Linked DNA regions of Homo sapiens: region 2 is linked to region 1. Evidence: promoter capture Hi-C in 16 types of primary human blood cells and fetal thymus (Javierre and others, 2016). All regions are on one chromosome and are shown on one strand. The core of a region is centred on a gene start or on the middle of the fragment in contact, and the rest is flanking DNA. Distances in the headings are between cores, read along the strand shown. Region 1 holds the start of SIK1 (salt inducible kinase 1). Region 2 overlaps LINC00322 (long intergenic non-protein coding RNA 322).

Region 1 (7,968 bases), core at 1-2,500:
GAACTAAAAACGGTTACTATTTACCCACCACGACAATCAAGCCTGGAGCAGTGAATCTGCATGGGGTCCACCCGCCAAAGGTCGGGTCGCCCCGGGTCCAGTGGGGAGGCCCCGCCGGCTGGGTCCCACCGCCCCCACGCACCTGCGTTTTGGTGACTCGATGCCGCGCCAGCTTCACCACCGCGAAGTTGCCTTTGCCCAGGGTCCGCTCGATGTCGTAAAAACCCACCCGGAGGGGCTTCTGCTGGCCCTGACCCTGGCCCGCGGGGTCCGCGCTGAACTCCGACATGATAACCATGGCTCCGCGCGCACCTGCGGGGCCGCACAGAGCTCAGAGCCCACCAGCGCCCCCGCCGCCCGCGGTCGGCTCCATCCGTGCCCGCGGAGCCCCCAGTCCCCACGGGACGCAGGGACCTGCTCCCACGCCTGTCGCCCCCACTCTATCCACGGGCCCCTCCAGCCCCGTGGGAGGTGTGGACCCGCCCCCGCCGCCCGCTCCACCCGGACCCCCGACCCTCTTGAGCCCCGCGGGGCGCACGGACCCGCTCTCATAGAGGCCCCTGCCGCCCGAGTCCGGTTCCGTCCCGATCCCGGGACCCCCTGAGCCGGGATTCCACACTCGCCTCCCGCCGCCCGCTGTCGGTTCCGTCCCCACCCTCGACCCCTTTAGCACCTCTGGGCGCGGACCCGCTCCCACACCTGGCCCTGCCACCCGAGGTCGGCTCGATCCGGATCCCAGGACCGTCCCCTGCCCCGCTCCCACACCCTGCCCCCGCCGCCCGCGATCCGTCCGGTCCCCACCCCCGACATCCCAGGCACCTCGGGGATCGCGGACCCGCCCCCCACACCCGGTATCTCCGCCCGCGGTCGGCTCCAACCTGACCCCCGGCTCCCCAGCCCCTGAGCCCCGCGGACTCACTCCTACCCCGGCCCCCCAACAAAGGGGAGCCCGAGGGCGGCCAGGCCGCCAACCCCGCCCGCGAACCCCGCGCGCGCAAGGCCAGGGACCCTGCGCGGTGGCTGCAACCCCGAGCCCCGGCCCGGCGCCCGCGCGGAGCCCCCACGGCGGCCACCTCCGCCCGCCCGGAGCCCGCCGCTGCCGCCGCTGCCGCCGCTGCCGCCGCCTCACCTCCGCCGCCACCGGAGCGCCCAGGCCAGGAAGCCGCCCGCTCGGCCGCTGGCGCTGCTCGGGTGCCTACTGCTCCGGCTGCCGCCGCCGCTGCTGCTGCCTCCGGGGCCGCGCCGCATGTCAGCCCGGAGCCGCCGCGCTCCGCCGCACGCGGCGCCCGGCCCCGCCCCGGCCCGCCCCGGCCCGCCCCCCGTAGTCCCCGCCCCCTGCCCCGCCCCCGCCGCCCGGGCGGGGGCCGCCCATTGACGTCGCTTTGACGCCAGAGCGACGCGCGGCCGAGCGCCGGGCGGAGGGAGAGCGGGAGATCGGGCGGTTGCCAAGAGACTGGCGGCTCTGACGCGCGCGGGATGAGGCCGTTGCCCTGGCGACCGCGGGCCGGTGACGTCAGGGGCGCCCGCCGCCCGAGGCCCGCCCGCCTGCGCTCCGCCGGGCGCCCCCTCCCGGGCGCTGGGGGCACTGCGGGCGGCCCCACCGCCGAGGGCGCGCCCGCCCCTCCACGCTCGGGCACTCGGGCCGGGTCCCGCGGGCGCCTTGTGCTCGCTCCCTCCAGGAGGGGACGGCTCTCGGGCAGGGGTCGCCGGCCCCTCCACGCGGCCTGCGTTCGTCCAGACTCAGAGCCTCGGGACGTGCGGGGGCCCGGGGGCCTCGCGGGCTCGCGCGTGGGGCTGGCGGCGCGGATGCCCTGGGGCGCTGCAGACCCCGAGAGGCCGCTTGCCCGCGGGGACGTCAGCCGCTTTTGCTGTTAAAATCTGAAATGTTCAGCAAGTTAGAAACTTGAAACCTAAGGAAGCGTGACCGGCCGCTCTGGAAGCCCCCGCCGCGCGGCCGGTCCCGGCCCCGGCCCTCAGCGGCGCTGGCGTCTGCGCGTCCCGGGGCTGCCCCCGCAGCATGTGGGGCTGGGACCCTCTTCCCGCGCGGGCCCCGGGCGGACGCTGCGGGCGGTGACGGAGCCAGGCCGGCCGCCTGGGTAGGGGACGGGGGCGCGGGACCACTTGCTTGCCCGTGGCCGATGCCTCATCCGAACGGAAAACGTTTTCTTCAGGGGAGACAGAGGCTGTGGGCGAAGGTATTTTTTAAGCCTGAGGACCCATTTGGGAGTTAGATTCTGGATCGAGCCTAGGGTCAGTTTTCCTTGTGTTAAATAACACTACTTCACAGAAGGGGGAACGAGAATTCAGGGGAGTTGGCACAAAACTTGGAACCCTTCTCGGGAGGCTTTCCTGCCTGGACGGACGCCTGGGAGGAGGGCCCGGAGAAACGAGGATGAGCTTCTCCTCATTCGCCCGAGGGTCTGACCACAGATTTCCCAATCGCCACACACACACACACACACACACACACACACACACACACACGGGTTGTTTGGGAGTCAGTTGGTTTTCAAAGGCTTTCAAGGAAATGAAGAGTCCCAAAGTTTTCCTTAATCGTTCAGAGTGTTTTTCTTTGTCCCAGGTTTATATACCAAGAATACGGGGGAATATTTTTAGTTCCTTTCAGCTGAACAGTGTACAACTGCCTTTTTTCCTTTTGGAGGTCCCAACACCCTGTTAATCCGCTCCTAGGAGAACTAAACAAAAACAAGGCTGGACGTCGTGTCTCCCGCCTGTAATCCCAGTGCTTTGGGAGGCTGAGGCAGGAGGATCAGTTGAGCTCAGGAGTTTGAGACCGGCTTGGTTAACATAGCAAGACCTCACCTCTATAAAATACTTTTAAAATAGCCAGGTGTGGTGGCACACGCCTGTGGGGCCGGCTACTTGGGAGCCTGAGGTGGGAGGATGGCGTGAGCCTGGGAGGTTGAGGCTGCAGTGAGCTGTCATTGCACCACTGCACTCCAGCCTGAGCAAGAGAACAAGGCCCTGTCTCAAAAAAGAACAAAGATAAAAGGCGGGGTGGGGGAGAAACCAGGCCCCTGATCACACTCACCATTCAGTCCCTCAGCCTGTGACTTGAAATACTGCCCCCCGCATCCAGGAAGCAGGCTTCCCCACCCCTCCCACCCTAGCCAGAGTCTTCCAAAAGGTCTTAGGTATTTGCAAACACCTGGCTGGCTGTTTGGAAACATTGCATCAGCACCAAATAAAAACTGCAGCCAAAACTGCCTCCGCAGAACAGGTCCCCAAACTCAGGTGCACTTGACCTTTCACCCTGACCCAGCCCTGAGCTTCCAAAACCCAGAACAGCCCTGTGCCAACCATGGCCATCCTGTTTTCCCTTCCCTGGGCCCGTGGGCAAGGAGCTCGCTCTGCAGAGAAAGGCAGGAAGCACAGAGGAAAAGGCCAAGCTTGGAACGGCTGTCCCGTCTCCCCACTGGGGGAACCCCTGGCACCCTCATAACTAAGTCTGTGCTTCAACCTGGTCTCTGTTACCCAATGTCTTTTGTTGTTGTTTGTGTCCTTGACCCCCCGAGGCTGTATTTCCTCTCAGAAGCTTTGATTTCTTTTCTGTTTTCTGGTCTTCCGTGCCTTTAACACGAGGAAAAATAAAACACATGGTGTGAGTGTAAGGATGGTACAAGCAAATGATTGGAGAAGCTCCTCACTGAACATAATGGAAGGAATGCTCCCAAAGTCTGCAGGAACGGTACTTTATTATTATGGTTTGCATATTATTACAGATTTGTGGAAAACGGCAAGTCAGTTTTCCTTTCCACATGGACTTTCTTCAGCTTGTCTTATGATTGCCGTGTTTCTGGAGTTCATCTTGTTTTTTAGGCCTTAAGACTGGAAACCCCAACAGGAAATGGGTCCATTTATTATTCATAGTTGTAACGCTGGCCACTGGCATGTCACAAAACTCTCAAAATCAATTGATAAACACAGAGAATGGAGCGTGGGGCAGCATTTTTGCAAAGGGATGGGTGCCCAGCTGGCCCCAGTGCCGCCCTCTGTGAGGAAGGAATCTCCCAGTGCAGCCAGGAGTCAGACGAGTTCCTCTTCCCGACCCTACCCTCCCATCTTCGACGCCTAAGGCCCTTCCCTGTCTTCCTGGCTTTGCTTCAGGTGGTTTTGTACTTTTTAAATTTTGTTTTGGTTTGTTTAGGCTTCAGCCTAGCGGCTTTAGGTGCCAGAAAATCAGATTAACCACTGCAGCGGCATCCTTCTCAGGGACCCGGGGGCCACGTTGGTCATTTTGCCCCATTGTATCTGGAGAGCTTGACAGACAGACATGTGTGCACTAGGTCAGGAAGCCACGGCCCTGGCCTGGGAAGAGGGCAGGTAGGAGAAAAGCCCCCAGCCCCCTCCACCCTCAGGGAATGGCCCAGTTGTCCACAGGTTAAGTCAAGAATCCCCCGCGAACAGGTCAAACCAGAGACTGCCCAGTCCCAGCGTCCGCCCCCAGGGCATTGCTTCCTTCACCTCCTACACTTGGCTCCCTGTGGTTCCGTGGCTGCCACAGTTGTGTGGATCCTACCGGGCCCAGGGCCCCTCCCCATCTCAGACAGCACCCACTTTCAGGCTAGGCCTTCCACGGGCTGCTTAAATGGACCACGAAGGCCGGCAAAGCAGCAGAAACGTGCCTGTTCACGGGCCAGTCGGCCCTCCCCGCTCCAGCCCTCTAGGGTTTCTGGTTCCGGTTTCTGTCGCTGCCGTTAGTGAGGAATTATTCATGTGGCCAATGCGTTTTCTTGACATTTAAGCAGGGCTGTGGCCGATATCAAGGCTGAGGACCCAAGAGGCCTTTGGGTGTCTGTGTCCCTGAGCCATATGCTGAGGTCGGACGGCGGGGGAGGGGGGTGCAGGAAGGGGCCAGCCCCAGCGAGAGTCAGCCAGGCCCCAAACAGAGCCAGGGGTTCCCCCGGGGGGGAGTGCTCACTTAGGAAGAGCACCATGGACAGCCTGGCAGGAGGTCACCCTGTGCTGAGCAGGCAGCGCTGGAGTAAACCACCTGCCTCTCTGTAGGAAGAAGGAAACCGCATCCGCAAACGGAGCAAAGGTCCCCAGAGGCAGAGCAGAAGCCTCTGGGATGCTGCAGCTTTGTGCAGACACTGGGGACCAGGACTGGAGCAGGTGCTGGCCGTGCTCTTTATCCTGGGCACTCTGCCAGGGCCACACGGAGCGTGGCTCCCGGGAGATGGAGACGTCTGAGTGTCAGCTCAGGTCTCGGTGTTTCCAGGTGACATGCTGGCTGCTAGTGTAGAGCATGGTAAACCATCTTTTTTTTTTTTGGTTACTATTTACTTATGCAAAATAATGTGAGTTTCTGCCATTTGCAACAAGTGTGCCAGCTGCAATGAGTCAGCGGGTGGACACAGGTGAGCATGGCCAGACTGTGCCAGAACATGGTGACAGACAGACATGCTTCGAAGTTCACTGTGGGAAGGGACAGGTCCCCAGAGAGAGGTGAGACGGTGCAACGCGAGGGTGAGTTCGGAGTCATCCTCCAGATGTCCACAAAGGCTCGAGAGGCCCTGCTGTGTGTCAGGCACTGCGTGAAGGTTGTGGGCACAGTAGGAGGGACACAAGACACCTTCTCTCGAGGACCGTTGGTTCCAGTTGCGGAGACAGTAACAGCATAAGATGATGAGTAAGAAAAGAATGCTGGCAGGAAAGTGGCCATGGAGGGAACTGCTTCCGGGCCTCTCCGTGGGATTTGCCAGGCGTGGACTGAGCGAGGACCTTCCCTGAGAACACCAACTGCTCCAGGAGAGAGAAGAGGTGGAGCCCCGGCGGGGGGCATGGGGCAGGAGGCAGCCACCCACACCTTCCCTCTCTGAATGCTGAGCAGAGGCTCTCAGCAGAGGGGAAGAAGAGCAGAGGCCACGATTGGGAAGACAGACCCAGTGGGGGTCCTTGGCGCCGTCCACATCCATCTGCAACCTGCTGCCCAGCGCCTGCCTGCCCGGGGTGTGCACAGAGCAGTGTGGTCTGTCCCGGCTTCACGGCCTGACACGGCCAGGCGAGGATGACAGGGAAAGGGAGGCAGGGACTTGGGGCTGTTGGAGCCAAGCTGAGGAGCAAGGAGCTGCGATGGGAAGCGGGTGGCAGGAAGGAGCGTGAGGCCTGTGGGTGGAAGGTCTCTGGCCTTGGAGATTGAAGCGTTTCACTTGTGCATCTCACAGCCCAGAGAAGCCAAGCCCGGACCATGGGGGAGAGAGGAGGACCCCCGTCTCAGGGCGGGCTGAGGAGACGCTCTCTCCACGGCTTCCGGATGGGTCTCCCTCCATCTCAGCTGCATCTATGGGAAAACGATGAAATGCTCCCTCCACTGCCGGGCCTTCTCTTATAAAGCAGGTTTCTTCGAAGTATAAAAATTAATAGAAAAGGTTCCATAGAAAATCAAGAAAGTAAGTATGTAAAGATGAAAACAAAAAGCACCGGAAATGCTCTTCATAGCTGACGTTTTCTTATTCACTTTTTATTAAAACAGGATGAGGCGTCCTGCCTTTTCCAGCCTTATCTAGGAAGTGTCTTGCCAGGTCACCAAATGGCAAGCAGAACCGTAAGCTGAAGTTGTCTGCCTAGAATTCCACTGTGGCAATGTTCAGCATCCCGACTGGACAGCTCCGTGCGGCGGCATCGGGGGCGCGGCGGCATCGGGGGCGCGGCAGCATCGGGGGCCCTTTTCATGCCATTCAAGGCCCCGTGGAAACAGACACCACAGCTCAGCATGAGACTGTGGCCCCACCTGACCTGGCTCATCCATCCCCAGCCTCTCGTGGTCCCCGGCCCTATGCCGACATTTGGCACTCGATGAGCCATTTCTCCACATTTCAGGAGCCTTGTTTTAAGACAGCCTGGCTGTCTGAGAGCCACCGGAGTCGAGACTGGATGCCCGGCCTGGTGCCCGTGGGCCAGCACCGCCTGAGGAGGAGGGGTCTCTGGAGGCCACAGGCAGAGCCACTGAGAGGGATCTTTAAGCAGAGGGCCCCACACACCTCCTGGGACCCACGGGTGTGGCTGCCATGCAGGGTCTGGGAGCTACAGAGAGTCGGGAACCAAGGGCGCGGTGGCTCACACCTGTAATCCCAGCACTTTGGGAGGCCAAGGATCACGAGGTCAGGAGATCGAGACCATCCTGGCTCATACGGTGAAACCCCATCTCCACTAAAAATACAAAAAATTAGCCGGGCGTGGTGGCGGGCGCCTGTGGTCCTAGCTACTCGGGAGGCTGAGGCAGGAGAATGGAGTGAACCCGGGAGGCAGAGGTTGCAGTGAACCCAGATTGCCCACTGCACTCCAGCCTGGGCAACAGAGCGAGACTCCGTCTCAAAAAAAAAAAAAAAGAAAGAAAAAAAGTAAAAACAAGAGAGTAGGGAGCCAAGTCCCTGGGTTGCCAAGTCAATCCGTGGAAGCCCCTGACTTCGAGCAGGACACAGGGCCCTAAGGACAGCCCCAGCCCCTGCAGTGTGGCCTGCAATGGGTGTCATTCATTTTGACCTGGCTGTTGTGGTTTTGGGTGGTATTGTTATTTGTTTGAAAAGAAAACACATGGGCTGCGTATGGCATGAGCAAGTACAGACGTCATTGGGATCGGCTAATGAAAATGACAGAGTACTCTAAAGTGACACCTTACAGGGACGTGGTGATGTGGCACCAGGCCCAGTGGCACCAGCACACCACCGTCTCGCTGGCATTTCCACCGTGGTCCCTGTTAAACCAGAAAGAACGAAAGTGTGATGGGGAAAAATAAGTATGTGTTTCTTGTAAAACACAGCTCATTTCAAAACTACTGAGAACAAGGGGACAGTTTGAAATTGGGCAGAGCCCCTTGGGACCAGCTGGACCAGGAAGAAGGTCCAATCAGCTCTTCCTCAGGGCCAGGAATCTCTCGGTCACTCCGAGGCCTGGAAGAAAGTTTCCAGAACCTTTTTTTGCACAAATAAACTGCAGATCTGAAAT
Region 2 (7,968 bases), core at 3,574-6,073, 110 kb before region 1:
AGCCAGGGAAACCTGGTCTCCTCCACCAGGAGCTGGAGGAGACCAGGAAGTATTGTCTACGGCCACGCATTCTGAATGTGCTCAGTTTCGCCTAATCTTGGTGAAACCAAGGAAACATCCTCCCCTGGAGCCTTCAGAGGGAGCACAGCCCTGCTGGCATCTTGGATATCAGGTCTCTAGAACTGCGAGAGAATCAATTTCTGTTGTTGGTTTTGTTTTGTTTTGAAGCAGGATCTCACTCTGTAGCCCAGGCTGGAGTGCAATGGTGCAATCACCGCTCACTGCAGCCTCTACCTCCCAGGTTAAAGTGATCCTCCCACTTCAGCCTCCTGAGTTCCTGGGACCACAGGCACACACCACCACGCCTGGTTAATTTGTGTGTACGTGTAGTTTTTGTAGAGATGGGGTCTTGCTATCTTGTCCAGGCTGGTCTCAAACTCCTGGACTCATGCCATCCGCCCGCTTTGGCCTCCCCATGCGCTGGGATTACAGGCGTGAGCCACCGCACCCAGCCAATTTCCCTTGTGTTAAGCTGTGTGTGTGATAATATGTTAGGGTGGCCTCAGGAAACGCCCACCTAACTTGGGAAGATGAGAACAGGGAAATCTATACCAGCTTGTGCGTGAGAAGTTTCAGACACAATAATTACTCAGATGTTCTTTCATGGGAAATCAAAGCAGAAGACATCCGAATGTTCAGGGTTTAGATGTAGGTTCTGTCCCTGAATGTACTGCAAATCAAAGACAAACGTGGAGGGCGATCTGGCCCAGCCAGAACATCAGGTCGTTCCTTATGCTGCTCTATCATCAGCTCTCCGTGGAGCCAGGTGGCTGCTTGGGCACTTGAGCCAGCAGGAAAGAGGAGAGGATGAAGGAAGGACGTCGTCTGCCCCAGCTGCTGTAACACACCGTAGGTGGTGGCTCGAGCCGCAGGCATTTCTTTCCCCAGCTCTAGAGGCTGGAAGTCTGAGATCTGGGCCGGCGAGGTTGTATTCTGGGGAGGGCTCTCGAATTGGCTTGCAGATGGTCATTGTCTTGTTGTATCCTCAGATGGCAGAGAGAGGGAGCCCTGGTGCCTCTTCCTCTTCTGAAAGGGCGCTAATCTCATCAAAAGGGCCCCCTCATGACCTCATCTAAATCTAATTATCTCCCAAAAGCCCCATCTCCAAATCATGCCACATGGGAAGTTTGGGCTCCAATGTGAATTTGCAGGGGACACAGTTCAGTGCACAGCAGAGGGCATGGTCCTGCCTGTTAAGGATGCTTTCCGGAGGTTGCACACAACACTTCTGCTTAAAATTTGGGCACCAAAATTTAGGCACATGGTCACAGCTGGCTGCGAGGGGGAATGGGAATTGTATCCAGCTAAAATTAAGGAGTTCATATTATGACGTGCTCCGATAAGAGTAGGGATTCAGACTTTCCCCATGTCCCTTCGTTGCTTCATGCCTCTTCACAGTCCTTCATATCGATCCTGCCGTCTCATGGTCCAACGTGGCTGCCTGAGTACCTGTCATCACCTCTGCATTCCAGCCAATAGACTATGCCTCACTTAGTCCTGATGTAGTGTGAGGAATGCAGTCTCTTATCTGAATGCAGTGTGTCCAGTGAAAAGCTGGGGTTCTTGTTATTCAGGAAGAAGGATGGAAGGGCTGGGGGTAGTTAGCAGAATTTTGCCCACTGCCCTTATTGCCCCAAGGACTCTGGGTAAAACACTGACATGTAAACTGCCCTCCTGTTTGATCATTGGCTGCTCAGAGTCCATCCCTGCAAAGCCCACACCATAAGCTCCCCAAGTGCATGAGTCACGACTTTTCTTCTTCTTGCTCCTATAGGGTCTAGGCTGACACCGGGCAAGTCCCAGGGGGGTTAGCTGGGCATGCGCTGGCTAAGCTGAAGATGGGCTGTACCGAGCCAAACCATGGGATGGGGAAGCAGCGCCAGCAGTGGCTGCCTGACCTCCAGGTAACCCACCGTGCACCCGATGCTGGGTGCCTCCCCTGAGCGCTCTCAGCTTAGGCTTTCTGCACCTGGCTTCCCCACCAGAAGGACTTTCCACCCACACCCTCTGCAAGGCTTCAGAACTCTTTCTAACAAACCCCAGGGGGAGGGAGCGCGTTTCCCCGCAGCCAGACACGCTCAGTGACATTCTAGAGTCAAGTTCAGCGCTTGGCAAAGGCCCATTCCATAAAGGACAGATGCCCGGCCTCGGGAGGTTACAGGAATGGGGAGAAGGGTGACAGGACCCTCAGCAAGTCTCTGTGTCCAGGGGTTTCCAGCCAGCGTGGCTTGCCATGCTCCAAGCTGGGCTCAGAGGCTCTGGCTTCCCGACCCTCTGAGAGCATCTCTCTGTACACACAGAGGGGGTGGGGGCCAGTCACATCTGCTCCGGGCGATGTGACTCAGCTGTGGACGATGACGACATGATCCTGAGCATGACAGGGTGGGAAGCTTTTCCTCCTTCTCCAGGGCCTGCGAACCCTGGAAATGCATCCACGATGCAAATAGCGACAGACATCATTAGCGGACGCATCCATTCTGTTTGAGCTGGAAACGCTCAGGGCTGCAAGGCCCTTTTCTGAGAAGAGCGGTTCCTGTCGTCATCCTCCTCTGCACCGCAGCGTCTGATTCCCAGGAGGGACAGCCCGGCAGTTATAAAAGGCTCTTTCATGACAGGCCTAGAGGAATTAGAAATATAATTTTTTCAGGCGCTTCCAAAAAATCAAGTAATTAGAGCTCATGCACGTAAAAGGGCCCGCCATGAGATTTGTGGCTTGTTTTTTAAAGGAATCAATTTATATATTAAAACAATAAAATACATCCGGGGAGCACAAGCCTCTCTAATGCTTTCAGTGTCTTCTCAGTGTGGTTCCAGAAAACTCTGCCCCAGAGGAAACCAAGGACAGGGTTCCCTGGGCTGTTCCTGGGGGTTTGTGGGGGCTGCTGGGCTGGATGTAAAGTCATGTGTGTTCTCAAGGCTGGGGAAAGGACTTCACTGCTGCTGCTGACCCCAGCAATGTGTCCACTTGAATCAGCTCAGTGTAAAACAGAAAAAAAAAAGTGCTCTTGTCCTTTCAGGTCCTAATGTAGAGAGTGAAATGGCAGAAAGGATTCTATGTTAAATTTCCAGCTCGTAAAACCAGATGCAAGTTTATGCTTGTACATGGCCATGGGGAGGCCAAGGCTGGGAGGGTGGGGCCCATCCTGCAGGTGCAAGGTTAACTCTCCCTGCCCACAGGGGCCTGCAGCTTCCCCTCCCCCAGGTGATGGTTTGAATGGTATTCCCCACAAAAGATGCTGAAGTCCAACCCCCAGTACCTGTGAGTGGGACCTTCACTGGAAACAGAGTCCTGGCAGATCAGGTTAAGATGAGGTCACAGGTTGGACCCAACAAGACTGGCGTCTTTACCAAAAGGGGCGATTCTGACACAGAGGGGCATGTCCAGGGAGGACAAACTGAAGATACAGGGAGAAGACGGCCATCTCCAGGAACATCTCAGGCTGCCAGAAGCTGGCAGAGATGGGGACCAGAGGCTCCCTCACAGCCCCAGGAGGAGCCAGCCCTGACCACACCTGCATTGCAGACTTCTGGCCTCCAGGGCCGTGAGGTCAGGGATTTCTGAGGTTCAAGCCCCCCAGTGTGGTGCTTTGTTACGTAGGCTGAGCTGACTCATACACCCCGGCTGATGAAATGCTTCACCATCAGTTTCAGTTGTGAGCTGGTCATCTGGCCCCAAGAGAGCCCAGGCACCCCAGCCCACTACCCACCCTGGGTTTCTGCCCACGCCAATGGCTCCTGTGCCACCATGGCCAGGTAGAGGCACTTCCTCCACCCAGCCCTGGGTCACATGACAATTCCCTGTTCTCACTGTCCCCGTGAACCCCTCAGGGTCAGCGCTTCCACAGCCCTGGCAACCCTAGGCCACTCTGAGTGGCAGAGGCTGCCTAGCGTTTCTGACTCTGGAGACCCCTCTGTTGAGGATGGGGTCCCCTGGGTCCTGGAGCTTCCAGCACCCAGTCTCAGCTGAGGCCACCGCCTGAGCTCCTTCCTCCCAGAGGCTGAGCCGGCCTTTGGCCCCTGCCCTGGCACTGTGCTGGCTGTGCTCTCTGAGCTCATTTTTCTTGGTGGAGGCCAGGAGTTGGCTTCAGGGTACCCTTGTGTTTTCTCCTCCAAGGCCTGGGGACATATTCACAAATCCCTCCCAGGGGCCCTTCTGATGCCTTCATAGTGAGTCACTGAGGGCCCCCAAGCCTGGGGCCCAGGCCGGGTGAAACAGATTGCCCAGCACCTCCCCTCCTCCCCTTCACTGCCTTGAGAGAGGAGCGTCCTTCTCAGCTGTTTCTCCACATAGAGGATGGAGGCCACCAGGCCTCACCGTCCTGAGAGCCATCCCAAGAGCCATCCCAGGCACTGCCCTTGGAACTGGCCATGTGGCTCCAGTGTGGTTTGAGGCTTCAGAGGATTCGGGCCCATGAGGCCAGGGGAACACCCAGTGGGAGGCCTGTCCCTCCTTCCCGACCCTCCCCTGACCACATCTGGCCTCTCTTTGGGGGCCCTTCTGGGTCTGCCCTCCTCTTCTGGGGCCCAAGGGGGGGCCTTGGGTGGAGCTCAGATGTGCCCCCTGGGAGGCGCTTGCTGGGCAACGCCCCTTGGGGTGGGAGATGGAGCTGGGTGGGCAAAAAGGGGGTGCCTGTGGGTGGGGCCTGCACCTGCACGCTTGCCTCAGCAGGTGTGACTCGGGCAACTGACCCTGGCTGAGGCTCAGGGACCCCCAAAACTTTGCTGTTTGATTGGAGACGTTTTCAAAACGAGTCCTTGGTGGCAACCCCAGGCCAGCTCCACAGGGCCCCACGATCTGTCTTCAGGGTGCTTCCAAGGCAGGAGCTCAGGCCGGTGGGGCACCCTAACCCTCGCTGGATGCTCCTGCCACCCTCCCTGGTCTGCTCCCTCTTGAGAGGGGCATGGGCTTCGAACCATGGGCTATGAGCCTATCCACATACCTTGTTTTCCCCACTAAATGGCAGCGTTTCTTATTGATGCCCATGGAAACCACCAGGGAGGTGGCTCTGCCCCCTGGCTCTACTCAAGGGATCATAATACATTTCAGAGCCAATCTTATCTCCACTACTTTATAGGAGTCAAAAATACAATGTTTTCAAGACAAGGACAGCCCAGCAGACCCACAAAGTCGCAGGGCACAGAGCTGCCCAGCACCCTTTCTCCCCCAGCCCAGCCTGTGCCGGCCGTGTTGTCCCGACAGGCGCCACACGGAGGCCTTCGCAGTTGGAAATGGTGCTGTGTGGCAAGGGCATCTGGGCCGGTGATGACAGCAGACAGTGGCGGGGGCTCGCATGGGGACCCACCACTGCGGCTCCACACTGCAAGCAGAGCCCTGGGCCCAGCCAGAAACCAAGCAGAGGCCATGCAGTGCGGAGGCTGAATGTTCTTGGAGAGTGTGGCCGGCTTCCTCCTCTCTCCAGACAGCAAGACCCAGGATGGGCCTGGAGTTGTCCGAGGACACAAAGCTGGTTTGCGGAGGGCTGGCCTGGGGCGCAGGGCTCCTGGTGCCTGGTTCAGAGCCTTTCAACCCCCGTGTTGCCACACCTGAGCCAGTGCGACACTCAGCTGCAGTGGCCAGACTGTGAGCCCAGGGTCATCGCGAGGCAGACGCCAAGACAGGATGAAGGGCAGGAGGATTTCATCGGGGGATCACCAGTGTGGGAGGAAATGGGGAGGCAGCCAGGAGGCTGGGAAAGCTGTGGGACAGAAGTACGAGTCTGACTGCCAGGGAGGCGGGGAGGGGAGGGAGCGAAGTGGTGGGTGCAGGCTGTGGGGAGCCCTGGAGATGTGGCTGGGGTAGAGGAGTCCCAGTGAGGGACAGGAGTGTGTCTGGTTCTCAGCTGTGTCCCCAGCACCTTGGACAGTGCCTGGCACATAGTACATGCTCATTGTAGGTTTGATGAGCGAGTGAATGAATGCATGGCTGGCGATGGGCTAGTGGAGGAAAGGGGAGAGACCTGTGCGTGGGAAGGGCTCTTGGAGCCTTCTGCCAAGGAGAGTGGAGCCCCAAAGGCAGTACAGAGCGTCTATGTTCTCTCCAGACCGTGACCCCTCAGCCACCCTGACTCAGCCCTATCTGCTCCCTGCCATGGAGGTCTTAGACATGCTATCCCGGGCTGCAGCCTACTAAGCAGGACCTTGAGAGTGAATGTGCTGCCTGAAGCACATGGCCAGCCTCCTTCGGCGCCAGCCCGCTGGCCCTGTTTGCGGGAAAATGCCTTCTGTATTGCTTCGTAATGGCCTGCTTTGTTCAGCCAGCTTTGCACTTGAAGCCAGCCAGCTTGGCAGCCGAACGGCCACATGTCGGTCATTCAGGCAGCAGGTCAGCAGTGGAACTGGGTGGCTTCCAGCTGCCCGTGGGAGCCGGCCTGAGATGAACCTCCTCCCTCCTTCTGAGAAGTGGCCGGGCACACAGGAGTGCAGCCTGGCTGCATTTTCAGTCATTTCCCAGGTTATTTTCCTGGCTGCAGTGACACACCAGCCACATGCTGCCCATGTGGGCCTGGGTCTCCCTGGGCTTAGGAGGAGCCCCACAGGTGCTTTATGAGGACGGGCTGGGGAGAGTGGAGGAGGCGTCCCCAGCCTGTCCCTGCGAGGTGCCCGGGTCCCGGCTGCAGCCTGCCCATGTCCCCAGGTGCCTGCATGGCAGAGCCAGGCCACCTGCTGTGCATCCGCCACCTTGTGCTGGGAGGGTGGCACTCAGTGGATGCCAGCCATGCACCCGCCTCAGCCTCCACATTCACTTTGCCACAGGGAAAAAGGGAGCATTGTGCTGGCCCAGTGACCCCAGACGTGCTGACCTACTGGGAGGGGCAGTGGGTCTGCCCCGCATCCGAGTAAGGCGGGAGCTGCTAAATGCACCCATTTGGGCTCTGCCCCAAAACCTCTTGTGGGAGCCTGGAGATCTGCATTTCCACATAGTTTAGGTAACTCCCAGATGATGGATGTGTTGCGAGGCTGGGAATCCCTACATCACCTTCCCAGGGACAAGCTGATTGCACCCTCAGCTCCCCATCCCAGGCTCTGGCTTTGCTGGGGCCTTGCGGTTTCAGCCCCAGGTTCACGAGCTTGGTTCCGACACCCCTCAGCCCCTCCCTAAGACCTCTTTTGCCTGCTGAGGGAGCAGGCGGGTCTTTCAAAGCTTCCCCCGAATGCCTGGGGTCCTCTCCTCTTGTACTTGCTTGTGAGTCATTCAAGCAGCTCCAGCTCCGTGCTCACCGAGTTTCCTGGGCTTCCCTAGCAAAGTGCCCCAGAACGAGTGGCTTAAAACAACAGAAAGGTATTCTCTCCCAGCTCTGGACACCAGAAGAGCAAGATCGAGGCACACCCTCCCTGAAGGCTGAGGGGTGTCCCTCCTGCCTCCTGCAGCTCCTGGTGGCTCTGGTGCTCTTGGGCTTGTTGGCCGCCTCTCCCCATCTGTGCCTCTGTCTTCCCTGAGCAGGGGAAGCACTGCCATCAGCCCCATGTCACAGACAAGGAAACAGACCCAGGGCTTCCGCAGCCATACACCATGCCGCTGGGGGAGAGGCTGCTGGGACCCCACCCCTGCCCCCCAGGCCTCCTGCTCCCAGAGAAGAGAGCCCCCCCCACCCTGGCAGGGAGGAGCTGAAGGGTCCCTCTCTGAGCACTGTCACCCCGCAGGCCGGGCCGCCGGGGTCTGACTGCAGCCTCCCGAGTCACTCTCAGGTCAGGGAGACACCGCATGACCACGTCCCCGATGCGCCTTCTGGTTGGGGTGAGGCTCTGACACCGCGGAAGCCAACAGGGTTCAGACATCCCGGTTCCTAATGTTTTGCAAGGCCTCAAGCCATGTTTGGGGCATCCTGTGTGTGTGAGGGCCAGCGAGGGCTGGCACTGTACGCTGCAGCTCTGCACAAGGAGGGCTGAAGTTGCTCTCTGTGCCTGGTG

The links. Contacts are between HindIII fragments. The CHiCAGO score rates a contact against its expected background, and 5 or more counts as called.
Region 2: a fragment that was not itself captured here is called in contact with the fragment with the promoter of SIK1 in region 1 in 2 of 17 cell types (naive B cells and total B cells); the score reaches 6.9 in naive B cells.

Annotation. Positions count from the first base shown.
Region 1 is chr21:43,425,881-43,433,848 of GRCh38, forward strand. It overlaps SIK1 (salt inducible kinase 1), which reads right to left and starts at 1,251. Exons shown (of 14, transcript NM_173354.5): 1 at 1,130-1,251; 2 at 143-312. The coding sequence starts at 298. LOC124905029 (a long non-coding RNA gene) reads left to right here and starts at 3,704. Exons shown (of 3, transcript XR_007067891.1): 1 at 3,704-7,968. RefSeq lists a silencer at 4,849-5,143 and an enhancer at 7,931-7,968. The HindIII fragment of the contact is 3,848 bases long and covers 1-3,408 here.
Region 2 is chr21:43,317,094-43,325,061 of GRCh38, forward strand. It overlaps LINC00322 (long intergenic non-protein coding RNA 322), which reads right to left. Exons shown (of 3, transcript NR_103713.2): 3 at 5,116-5,756. Among named protein-coding and RNA genes, the nearest start is that of LINC00322, 11 kb to the right of the region's middle. The HindIII fragment of the contact is 4,751 bases long and covers 2,449-7,199 here.